3 separate regions of the Homo sapiens genome follow, and regions 1 and 3 are each linked to region 2. The links are contacts of gene promoters, found by promoter capture Hi-C in blood cells and fetal thymus (Javierre and others, 2016). All regions are on one chromosome and are shown on one strand. The core of a region is centred on a gene start or on the middle of the fragment in contact, and the rest is flanking DNA. Distances in the headings are between cores, read along the strand shown.

Region 1 (4,030 bases), core at 1,025-3,524, 87 kb before region 2:
CACTAAAAATCCTGTTCCTGGACAGGAGTATTTTGGGGTATAAGCCATTCCATCTCGGAAATTTCAGGGGCCTTGTAGAAAGACAAGGAAGGGGCACCCCCTTCAGAAAGGGTTTAGGGTCCTGAGTTCCTGGGCAATGGGAGTCCCTCGGGGTTGAGGGTTTGGAGTCAGAGGTGTGTAAGGATTGCTTCTCCACCTGCGTCTCTGGGTACCTCTAGCCAGACACTGCTGTGGCTCAGGTGGAGAGCAAGCGGGGCATCAGGGTGGAGGCCTCTCCTGCACCATTGCGCTCTCTGGGTGGGTCAGATGTGCTCTGGAAGCCATGTGTGTGTGTGTCTGTTGCCAGCGTTAGGCCAAGTGCGATGTCATGTTTGTGTGTGTGTCTGTTGCCAACGTTAGGCCGAGTGCGATGTCATGTTTGTGTGTGTGTCTGTTGCCAGCGTTAGGCCAAGTGCGATGTCGTGTTTGTGTGTGTGTCTGTTGCCAACATTAGGCCAAGTGCGATGTCGTGTTTGTGTGTATGTCTGTTGCCAACATTAGGCCAAGTGCGATGTCATGTTTGTGTGTGTGTTGCCAACGTTAGGCCAAGTGTGATGTCATGTTTGTGTGTGTGTCTGTTGCCAACATTAGGCCAAGTGCGATGTCATGTTTATGTGTGTGTTGCCAACGTTAGGCCGAGTGCGATGTCATGTTTGTGTGTGTGTCTGTTGCCAACGTTAGGCCGAGTGCGATGTCATGTTTGTGTGTGTGTCTGTTGCCAATGTTAGGCCAAGTGCGATGTCATGTTTGTGTGTGTGTTGCCAACGTTAGGCCAAGTGCAATGTCATGTTTGTGTGTGTGTGTCTGTTGCCAACATTAGGCCAAGTGCGATGTCATGTTTGTGTGTGTGTTGCCAACGTTAGGCCGAGTGCGATGTCATGTTTGTGTGTGTGTTGCCAACGTTAGGCCGAGTGCGATATCGTGTTTGTGTGTGTGTCTGTTGCCGTTAGGCCGAGTGCGATGTCATGTTTGTGTGTGTGTTTGTTGCCAACGTTAGGCCAAGTGCAATGTCATGTTTGTGTGTGTGTGTCTGTTGCCAACGTTAGGCCAAGTGCGATGTCATGTTTGTGTGTGTGTCTGTTGCCAACGTTAGGCCAAGTGCAATGTCGGAGAGGTGGTGTTGGGTGTTTCCGCCACATGTTGTGGCATGGAGGGCCCCTGCTTCCCAGCGTCCTGTGAGGGGCTCCACATGATGTCTGAGCTGCCCTTTCTTTTATTTTGCTGCCATTAATGTGTCTCTCTTTTTTATTCTTTGACCTAGGGAAGATTTAGGATTCAGATTTATATCGGAACAGGTCAGTCACCACCCCCCCATCAGTGCGTTCCACTCGGAAGGTCTCAACCATGACTTCCTGTTCCATGGCTCCATCTACCCCAAGCTCAAGTTCTGGGGCAAAAGCGTGGAGGCGGAGCCCCGAGGCACCATCACCCTGGAGCTGCTCAAGTGAGTGTCGGTGCGTCCTGCTGAGATCCGCTTCCTGCAGAAACTGAAATGGGTGCTGGTGATGTGGAGGGAAAGCTTCCTTCAGGAGGAAACCCTGTCATTTTTCTCCTGAGGTGGGGACCTCCCCACAGCAGAAACGTCTTCAGATGAGCTTCCTGACCAGGGTCCCGTGTTGCTGGGGTGCGTCCTCACGTCTGCAGTTGGAATTCGCCCCCCTTTCGGTCACATCATTCATTGTATGACCAGGGTCCCATGTTGCTGGGGTGCATCCTCACGTCTGCAGTTGGAACTCACCCCGCTTTCCGGCATCATTCATTGTATTTCTTGTCTTTTGCTGCATAACTGTCCCAAACTTAGCAGCTTCCACACCAGGCTGGCAGGTGTCTGAGGGCCGGGGACCGTGAGGTTGCGGTGGCAATGAGGGTTGGGTTGCCCATGGCGCCTGTGTCCTGGCTCCCCTTCTGGGCTGCTTGCTGCAGGGCACTGCCTCCCACAGGGGGAGAGAGCTGAGAAGGAAGCCAGGGAAGTGGCCCTTTGCACACTCCCCCACCCTGTGCTCATGTGGCAGGGGTGACTTAGGGTTGGAATTTGAAACAGCGTGGGAGGGGACCCTCTGAGAGGCTGCTTGCCACCCCTCTTCACTCTCAGCCTAAATGCTCCCCAATCCAGTGTCAACCAAAGACACCTCAGAGCAAAACACAAGTCTCCAACAAATGCCGGCCGCTAAGACCCGACAGACACAGACCGGATGCTGGCGTCCTCCTGGGCCACCAGTTCTGAGACGTGAGTCTTGCCAAGCCACTGCCTGCAGTCTTGTTGTAGGCAGCAGGTCCTAACAAATACATACAGAAATAAGTAATAAACGACACCTTGCCTGATGAAGCATTTGATTTGGGTTTTGCTTCACATTGGCCCTGCCTGGATGGTGGCTAGAAGGTTCCACAAGGACCTGGAGAAGCCCCTGAGAGTGTGTCCTGGGGCTGGTATGGCCGAGTGCCTGTTGTGCAGTGGCCTTGCTTAATTAAGAGGCATGCAGAAATGAGAAGTTGCACACCTTGCTGATAAAGTTGCACACCTTGCTGATAACCTTGCTGATGAACCAGTTTGGGTTCCACCCCCAGGAAATTGAGAGAATTCCAGACGTGTGGCAAAATACCCTGCTCTGAGCAGATTTCTGCCTTCACTGTGGCTCCCCCACGTAGCACCTTAGAACATAGGGCTGCTGATCTGCTGCCTCACATTGGTGGGGTGTTTTCTTCTTGGGCAGGGCCATTTGGGAGGATGAGGAGTAAAGGAAACAAGTATGTGGAGTGCGGTTGAAAACCCTGCACCCCTCCACAGCCATGTGCCAGCTCCCCAGAAAGCCAGGGCCGCATGCCCAGGACCCTGCATTACTGCCGTGTGTGTTTCGTGAGGTGGCCTTTCTTTTGACGACTTCACAGGAAAGCCATTTGTCTTTGTTCAGTCTTCTTTGATTGCTTATTAACTTGTCTTGACATTTAAGTAGAAAGCTTTGTAGATGCTACAAAGGAAAGAAGAAGTACATTTCAAACGCATGCTAAATACACAGCCTCCGTCGCAGGGGCTTCAAAGCAGCGTGCTGCTCTCCCGCGGGTGCCGGTTGCTGTGACCCAGCCCCGCCTGGTCGTTGCGTCTTGGGTCACGTCGTGTCTTGGCTTTTCTGGACTCTCACTGCTTGTTTTCTGGTGTCTTCACAGACATAATGAAGCCTACACCTGGACCAACCCCACCTGCTGCGTCCACAACGTCATCATCGGGAAGCTGTGGATAGAGCAGTATGGGACAGTGGAGATTTTAAACCACAGGTGACAGCACCCCACCGTTGGGTGAGAGCGCGAGGCTCCGGGTGGGGATGGGCGAGCCGGGGAGCGTGAGCATCCGTGCTCCTGGTGGGTTTTAGCTCAGCCTCACGAGCTGCTGCCGTGTCCCCGCCAGCCCAGGCATAGCAGCTGCCTAGACTTGACTCTGACCGGTGTTGGCCATGAATGCTCCTCGTTCAAGACCTCGTTTTTCGTCACGGTTGTTACTTTAAGGCTTTGAGCTATGCTGAAGAGCTGTGTCATTGCCAGGTGCAGCGCAGTGGCCGTCCACGGCCGTTGGCCACTGTCTAGGCTTGAATGCCCTATTCCTGGAAGCTCATGACTGGTGGGCTTTGCCTTTTCACCACTTTAGTGAGGTATAATCGATGCATCATAAGACTCGCCCATTCTGAATGGACACTTAAGTGATTTTTAGTAAATTGACCGAATCATGGAGCCGTCCCCACAGCCCATTTCAAACACTTCCATCGCCCCAAAGGCCCACCACACCCATTTGCAGTCACCCCCCGCCTGCCCCAGGGGCCTCCACCGCGCTTCTCCTGTTACAGAGTTACCCTTTCCGGCTGTTTGCTGTCTTGCAGCAGAAACCTGTGTTTGTTTTTCTCACAGAACTGGACATAAGTGTGTGCTTCACTTTAAACCGTGTGGATTATTTGGAAAAGAACTTCACAAGGTGGAAGGACACATTCAAGACAAAAAGTAGGTC
Region 2 (3,586 bases), core at 330-2,829:
GCTGGGGGGCTCCAAGCAGGTGTCAGCAGCTTTCCAGGGCTCAGATCCCCCATCTGAAGTGTGGGCTTGAGACCTCCTATCTCAGAGGACTGTGCTGGGCTTAAGGAGAGAACGGTGAGCCCAGAAGCCTGGGGAGGCTCCTTCCCCCTCCACCAGGGCCAAGGGGGTGGGGCAGGCAGAGGGGGCGGGCCCAGCCCAGGCTCCTCCATTCATCCCCATAACGTCTTGCTCCAGGGCCCTCTGCCCCCACCCAGCAAATCTCCAGCTACTCGCCCCTGCCCCAGCCTCTCCTTCCGGGAAGGCAGAGGTACCAGGGAGGAGACAGCTCAGGTTACACAGGCCCTCAGGGCCCCTAGACTCTCCCTAAGGTGGGGCTGAGGTGGGGAATGGGCCTAGAGCGGCCGGTTGGGAGCCGTTGGAGCTGACTTTGCTGCTCCTCACCCAAGGCTGACCCCAGGCCCAACCTAAGTCTACAGGGCCCCAAGAGCCTTGGTTTTCAGGTGAGGTGTCCATGCATGGAGTCCACCAACAGAACCCGCCTACAGGTTTAAGGCTTGTTGGGGAGGGGACATGCACCCCAGGGGGTCTTCAGGGCCTGAACCCACATCTCCCAGGGAGACTGAAGCCCCCGGACCCTACCACCTGCTGGGCAGAGATGCTGCCCCTCCTGGGAGCCACGTGTTCCCAGCCCCAGTCAAAACTTCGCAGCTGGCCCTCCCCTACTTTGGAGGTCTCCTCGAGTCCCTAGACTCCTCCGAGAGGGGCTAGTGGGAGCCTCAGGTGGCTGGCCCCTCCCACCCCATCCAGAGGCCAACAGGTTCCAGCCTGTCCCGGGTAGGGCGGAGCTGCGCCCCCTCCCCACCGGCAGCAGGCGGCGGAGGCCAAGTCCCGCCCTCCCCGGGATCCCGGACTTGGGGCCGCCAGGGACTGGGCCCGGCCCCCCTCCCGCCCCGGTCACCGCAGTCGAACTGGACCGGCGCCCAGCCGCCCCCGGGTCCATGCCGGGGACTTTAATTCCGCCTTCCCGGAGGGACGCGAAGTTTCCCGGCCGAGACGGAGCGGCCGGGTCGGGGTGCCTTCTTGGGCCCCCAAAATGCGGAACCAGAGAGTCCGCACCTGGACTCGCCCCGGGCCACGGCGCTCCCCCTGGGGTCGGGCCGGTGTTCCGGGTCCGAGTGCCCCGGGAGGAAGCCCCACGGCCCGCCCCTGCGCTCACCCGGATGGTCTGGTTGGGGTCGCCGCCGGCCACGGGGCCCCCTACCAGCTTGCAGTAAAGGTCCTCGGTGGGGCGCGGGGAGCCGCGCGCCGGGGCCTCCTCTCCGCAGGTCGCGGAGGCGGCGATGCGGGCGCCCTCGGCCAGGTTGAAGTAGGGCGGGTGCAGGCTGAAGCCGCCGCCCGCCTCCTCCCGCGCCCGCGCCGCGCCCAGCAGCGCCAGCCCGACCAGCAGCAGCGGCGCGGGGCCCCGGGGGCCGCGAACACACAGTGCGCTCCCCGCGCAGAGCCGCTTCGCCATCTTCCCGGCTCCGGGCCGCGTCCCCGAGCTCCAGGGACAGCGCGCGCGGCGGGAGCCCGGCGGGTCTGAAGCCAGGCGGCCGGCAGGGCTCGCTCCGCCCGCGGACGTCAGGCCCCGCCCCGGCCCGCCCGAGCGCCCGAGCCCCGAGCCCCGGGGAGAGGTCCGGGGAGGCGGGGTGGGGGGGGGAAGGAGAGAGGAGGGGGAGGGGCGGCCGGGCGGCCTTAACCCTTCGGACCCCGGCCCGGCCGCCTCCCGGAAGGGGCACCTGCTGGCCTCGGGCCAGGCCGTGGGACGACGGCGCCGCCGGGCCCCCAGCCCAGGTCGTAGCTCCGGGTCCCGGGTGGGACCCTAGCGCTCCCCACGACGCCCTGGCCCCCAGAGCGCCCACCAGCTCCTCCCAGCCCAGGGGCCCACTCTTTGTTCCCCTAACTTGGGTGCACCACTCGGCTGCCCCCGCTCCTCCCCCAACAGCGTCCGTCCTGCTGGCTGCGGGAAGGTGCCCTCTGCACCCGCGAATGACCATCTGCAGAGGAACGGGGCAGCCTAGGTGGGAACCCCCTGCTTCCTGGGGCAGCCAGGTCAGGTTCAACTCGGCCTGGCTCCCGCCTGCCCCAGCAGGGCTTAAAAATACTCTCAGATAGGGAAATAGGGGCAGGAGGGACTGGCCTGCAGCTGCAGCCCCCTTTAGAGGACGGGGGCGGTGCTCATGGCCCCACAGCCGCCAAATTGGCTCTTAAGGAGGTCGGGGGCTCTGGTCACAGCTGCTGAGCACCTGCTGGGTGCCTGGAAGCACCTGTGCTCCGGGGCCCGGTGGACTCCACCAGCTCTCTCGGCCTGGCCTCCAACCCGCTGCACAGCCGCGCACGCGTTCCTGCCACGATCGGCGGCTCGAGGACGCCTGGCAAACAGCACAGGACCTAGAGGCCGAGATCAGGTCTTCGTCTGCCTTTGGGTGGCTGCGGCCCTGGGTCTCCTACTTCCCTTGGGCTCCGGGGCCAAATCTGCCTCCAGGGAAGCCCCGAGGGGGTGGCGGCGGGGTGGGGCTGCAGCTGCCGAGCTGGCAGCAAACCCCCATCCCTGAGCCAGGCCAGCTGGGCGGGCCATGGTCCCAGATGGGCTGTGGGGCTCATCTCTCGCTGGGTTCCCTGGACAGTCCCGGGGGGCTGGGTGGGTTTGTGGGGCACTGGCCAGCCGGTTCTGGTGGGGGTTCTGAGCTAGCAGCTGTCCCTGGAGGGTGCACCTCCTTGCACACCTTCCTGGCGCCCTGGCCTCCTGCAAATCTCAAATCCCAAGAGGGTGTATGGCCCTTTCTCTACGGAGTCGGGAGGGCGATGGGACCCTCTCTCCCTCCTCCTACTTTCCGGCCCGGCAATTCTTCCATAACTTCACTATTAGTTCTCCCACCTGGGGGAGGGGGGAGAGGAGGCGGCTCCCCTTGGCAGGAGAAGCTCCAAGTGGGGGAGGGGCTGGCTGGAGAGGGGGCGGAGACATCAAGGAATCTGCAGTCCAGGCGCAGAGTCCGGCTCTGAGCTGCTTTAGATCCCGTGTGAGGCAGAGAGTGGCCTCTGGGCAGTAGCGGGTCCCCAGGTGGGGGCTTGGCCCCAGGCAGTGTGCTCTGGCTCTGGGCTCCCCCTTGACAGCTTGGGGCTCTGACAGCCTGGGGGACTGGAGGTGGAGACTCCTGAGACCCTGAGGGCTTCTTGGGATCCCTGGAGGGTCGGGTGGTTGGAGGGGTGGGATTGCGAGTGGCGGGGCAGGGGGAGAGGTGGGGGTGGGGAGAGCACTTTAAGCCTCCTAGCGGCCAGATCAGGCCAAGCTGCCAGGCCTCCGCTGTCCCCCGGCACTGGCCAGGAGGGGAGCGGGGGCCGGCCCTGAGAATGCGCTGTGTCAGCCGGAGCTGCCAGCACCAGCAGGGTTAATCACCGGGCTCACTGCTTCCCGGCAGACAGCTGCCCCGGGAGCAACTGGCAGGCAGGCGGGCAGCGCAGTGGACAAGAGAATGTGGCCCAGGGGCTGGGTAAAGAGCCCACACTCTGCCCCCACCCTGTGTCTGCTGGTGCACGGACTGGGAAG
Region 3 (3,980 bases), core at 585-3,084, 64 kb before region 2:
TTTCCAAAACAAAAAACGTGAATCTTTAGCTCAATCAATGTTTCAAATGGAAGCATTATGACAGTCAAAAGCTGGCAACTAAACATAACTGGCACAAGCTCTGCCACCGAGACAATGGAGGCCTGAGTAGTAGGCTCCCTGCAGAATGAAAGGACTGGAGCTGCCAGCATCAACACCAACGCATCTCCCAACAAGGGTGAGTGAAAACACACACCTAAAGACCTCAGAGAGCACGTAAGCACACAGCTGTGCATCCACTCTGAGGGTGAGCCACCAAGCACACGGTGACCCCGGGGAGCGCCCGAAGGGAGTGAAGTATCTGAAGGAAAGAAGGAAGTGAGCGATGGGCAAAGGAGAACCTGAGGACCCTGGCACAGTCTCAGCTGCAAACATCTAGTCTTGCTTAACTGGGGTGCAGAGGCCACTGCACCTCAGGGTTCTCACGAAGCGCCTGACCTCTCTATTTTATTACTATTATTATTATTATTTTTTTTTTTTGAGAAGGAGTCTTCCTCTGTCGCCCAGGCTGGAGTGCAGTGGTGCAATCTCGGCTCACTGCAACCTCCACCTCCCGGGTTCAGGCGATTCTCGTGCATCAGCCTCCTGAGTAGATGGAATTACAGGCATGTGCCAGCATACCTGGCTAATTTTTGCATTTTTAGTAGAGTCGGGGTTTCATTCACCATGTTGCCCAGGCTGGTCTTGAACTCCTGGCCTCAAGTAATCCGCCCGCCTCGGCCTCCCAAAGTTCTGGGTTTACAGGCGTGAGCCACCGCGCCTGAGCCCTCTAAGAGCCCCCGCCTGGCGTCGCTGTAGGCAAATCCCAAAGAACGTGTCCCTTCAGCAGCCGGCTGGGGCGCCACAAACACTATCTGTTGTCTTCGCTTTAGTTTGTGTCAAAGTGACTCAAAGTTACACAACACTGGCGGGCGACTGCCGCCTTTTTACCCTGTGGCCTTTCCCATCCAGGCGTCCAGAGGGTGAGCCCCTGCCCTCCAGGACCCCTCCCTTCCAGGACCCTACCCGTCTGGGACTCAGGCCTTCCCTGACTCCTCCCTCCCGGACTCACCCCTCCCAGATCCCTCCCCTCCGGGACCCTCTCCCCTCCCGGGCCCCCTCCCCTCCGGGAACCCCTCCCCTCCCGGACTCACCCCTCCCAGATCCCTCCCCTCCAGGAGCCCCTCCCCTCTCGGGACCCCTCTCCTCCCGGACCCACCCCTTCCTGACCCCTGCCCTCCCGGACCCCTGCGGGACTAGATGTATACAGCTGAGACCATATCACGGTTCTCACCCTCGCTCTACCCTCCCGGACCCCTGCTCTCCCGGACGCGTGGACTCCAGCTCCCGCCTGGGTCCCCAAAGCGCTGAACCCATGGTCACTTCTATGCGTAGCCCTGGTGCCCGCCGCCCACAGCCGGACCGCACTCCTCGGCCTCCGCCTAACCCCTGGCTCAGCCACACGAGTGACAGCTCTGCCCGCCCGGGCGGGCGACGCCGAGGGGTGGGCTCGGCCCCACCTGAGCAGTTCCCCAGCGCCCCTCTGAAACCCGCCTGTGGTCCCTGGCGCCGCCTCTAGGGGCCGCCGCCGCTCCCCTATGACACAGCAACAATAGGGGCCGCTCTGGTCCAAGCGCCCTGCGGCCCGCGCTTCCGCCGGAAAAGAGCCGCCGGCGCGGGGGCGGACCGGGGAGGAGCGAGTGCGATGGACGGTCGCCCTCGCCAATCGTTGGCAGGTTAGAGCCGGCTGCGCGGCTTACGGGGCTCAATCGGCGGCGAGAGCGGCAGGCGGGGCGGGCCGAACGCGGGTTTCCGGCGGGGCCCGGCAGGCGCCGAGGAGGAAGAGCGAGCCCGGACGGCGCCTCTCGAACGAGTGTGGGCGCGAGGCAGGTGCGGGAGTCGCCGGGCCTGGGGCGGCCGGGGGCGACCGGAGGCGGGGGCAGGGGCTGCTGGACCAAGGATGGGGCGGGGGCAGCCAAGACGAGAAGGTGGCCGGCGCGGCGGGTGGGGCCTGCGGGGGCCGGGCCGGGCGGGGGTTCTGGGGTCTCGGGCGCCGCCCCGGTTCCGCCTGCGGCTCTGAACGTGGGGCTCGGCGGGAGCTCGGGCGGGTCTGCCCCGCGGAGCGGGTCGCCGGGGTGGCGCGTCGAGGCTGGTGCCCCGCGGAGACGGCGTCAAGCCTAGGGCCGGCCCCACTAGGCTTGGCGGGGCTGCCCCGGCCCAGCGCCGAGTGCGGGCGGTGCGATCGTCGTGAGCGGGGCAAACGCGGAAAGGCAGCCCGGCGTGTCTGAGTCTGCCTTAGGCAGCTCTGGGCGCAGGCCCCCTGCTCGCAAACACCCCAGGGGGCGGGAGCTTGCCGGACCGCAGGCGACAGTGACCGCCGCGTCTCAGCGTCCTCTCCGCGCTTTCAGGATGACGACCTCAGGCGCGCTCTTTCCAAGCCTGGTGCCAGGCTCTCGGGGCGCCTCCAACAAGTACTTGGTGGAGTTTCGGGCGGGAAAGATGTCCCTGAAGGGGACCACCGTGACTCCGGATAAGCGGAAAGGGCTGGTGTACATTCAGCAGACGGACGACTCGCTTATTCACTTCTGCTGGAAGGACAGGACGTCCGGGAACGTGGAAGACGTGAGTGTCCCTGAGCCGCAGCAGCAGGACAGGCGACTTCTCGGGCCCTCGGAGTCCTCGCTTTGGAGTTCGCGGTGGGGGCTTGGCCGCATCTGGGGACCGCTCGTGGGGCCGTCATCGACTGCCCTGCTGATGGGTCGTCCTGGTTTCCGCGGTGACAGGGGCATCTCGGCCACTGTGTATCTTGAACTGTCCGTGTGAGGTGCCTGGGTTGGAGGTGTGGCCCTGGAGAGCCCGGAGCTCTGTGCCTGGCCTTGAACTGTCCGTGTGAGGTGCCTGGGGTTGGAGGTGTGGCCCTGGAGAGCCTGGAGCTCTGTGCCTGGCGGCTTCACTCAGTCTTCTTTGTTTTTCAAACTCTTAGTTGTTCTTTGTTACATTTGAGAGCAGTTCAGCGTTGACTTTTTAACTACTCTGGGAATGTTGTTTCCAGCACGTCTCAGAAACCCCGTTGCCATCTGAAAGGCCCCTTTCCCTGCTCTCTCCCCCGGCCTTGCCTTTCATGGGCTGTCTCTGACCCTGGCTTCTCTGCCTTGTGGAGACCCTGCCAGCGAGGGGTCTGGCGGCTTAGCTGCCCCTTGCGCACCCCACCCGGTTAGACCCAGGGCTCAGTACGCTCTCCTGAGACTGGGCACAGTGATGCCATCTGCGCCACTGACTCTCTCTTCCCCTGGCTTGCCAGGACTTGATCATCTTCCCTGACGACTGTGAGTTCAAGCGGGTGCCGCAGTGCCCCAGCGGGAGGGTCTACGTGCTGAAGTTCAAGGCAGGGTCCAAGCGGCTTTTCTTCTGGATGCAGGTATGGGGCAGGCCTTGGGGTTGTGCCTTTTTGTTGCCCTGCGATTCGGTTAGGAACTTGCTTACAGTGTGGTGCAATTGGCTTTTATAAACCAGCAGGCGCCGGCCACACCCGGCCACACGGCCTGAGATGCCACCTCAGGGCTGCGGTGCATGCTACCTGGGGCCGAGGTCCTCTCCCAGAGTACGGAGGCTCCAGGCTGGGCTGCGGGCAACCGATTGCGGTGTGAAATTTCCAGGCAGACAGACATGCTGGCCCTGGTTCTAACGATGCCCAGTGCCCTCTCTCTGCCCCTTGCCGTGGGTCACTGAGGCCCCCACAGCAGAGGCAGAGGCCCCTGTGTGGCTTCCCTGCTGGTGCTCACAGAAACGAAGCATCCTGCTCACACTTTCCACAGTCCTGCCCCTTCCCTGGCAGTGTGTCCTGGAGGCCAGGGGTGTCAGTGCCCAGGGTTTCTCTTACCCACAGCTGCAGAGCGTCTTTTGGGTCTAGAGGCCGCTGCTCATTCTGCCATCTGTCAGTGACCATTGAGCTTGTTGCCGTTTTTTGTGCTGTTACAGGCAGT

What was found. Contacts are between HindIII fragments. The CHiCAGO score rates a contact against its expected background, and 5 or more counts as called.
Region 1: a fragment that was not itself captured here is called in contact with the fragment with the promoter of LAMA5 in region 2 in 4 of 17 cell types (endothelial precursors, megakaryocytes, total B cells and 1 more); the score reaches 6.7 in endothelial precursors.
Region 3: the fragment with the promoter of ADRM1 here is called in contact with the fragment with the promoter of LAMA5 in region 2 in 2 of 17 cell types (endothelial precursors and naive B cells); the score reaches 6.8 in endothelial precursors.

The regions. Positions count from the first base shown.
Region 1 is chr20:62,277,857-62,281,886 of GRCh38, forward strand. OSBPL2 (oxysterol binding protein like 2) reads left to right here. Exons shown (of 14, transcript NM_144498.4): 7 at 1,301-1,483; 8 at 3,202-3,309; 9 at 3,934-4,023. Among named protein-coding and RNA genes, the nearest start is that of ADRM1, 23 kb to the right of the region's middle. RefSeq lists an enhancer at 1,077-1,577. The HindIII fragment of the contact is 1,436 bases long and covers 1,557-2,992 here.
Region 2 is chr20:62,365,733-62,369,318 of GRCh38, forward strand. LAMA5 (laminin subunit alpha 5) reads right to left here and starts at 1,580. Exons shown (of 80, transcript NM_005560.6): 1 at 1,217-1,580. The coding sequence starts at 1,513. RefSeq lists enhancers at 385-1,084, 3,183-3,586 and a silencer at 1,264-1,703. The HindIII fragment of the contact is 18,996 bases long and covers 1-3,586 here.
Region 3 is chr20:62,301,163-62,305,142 of GRCh38, forward strand. It overlaps ADRM1 (ADRM1 26S proteasome ubiquitin receptor), which reads left to right and starts at 1,835. Exons shown (of 10, transcript NM_007002.4): 1 at 1,835-1,887; 2 at 2,406-2,619; 3 at 3,299-3,415. The coding sequence starts at 2,407. RefSeq lists silencers at 1,345-1,464, 1,485-1,944. The HindIII fragment of the contact is 19,122 bases long and covers 1-3,980 here.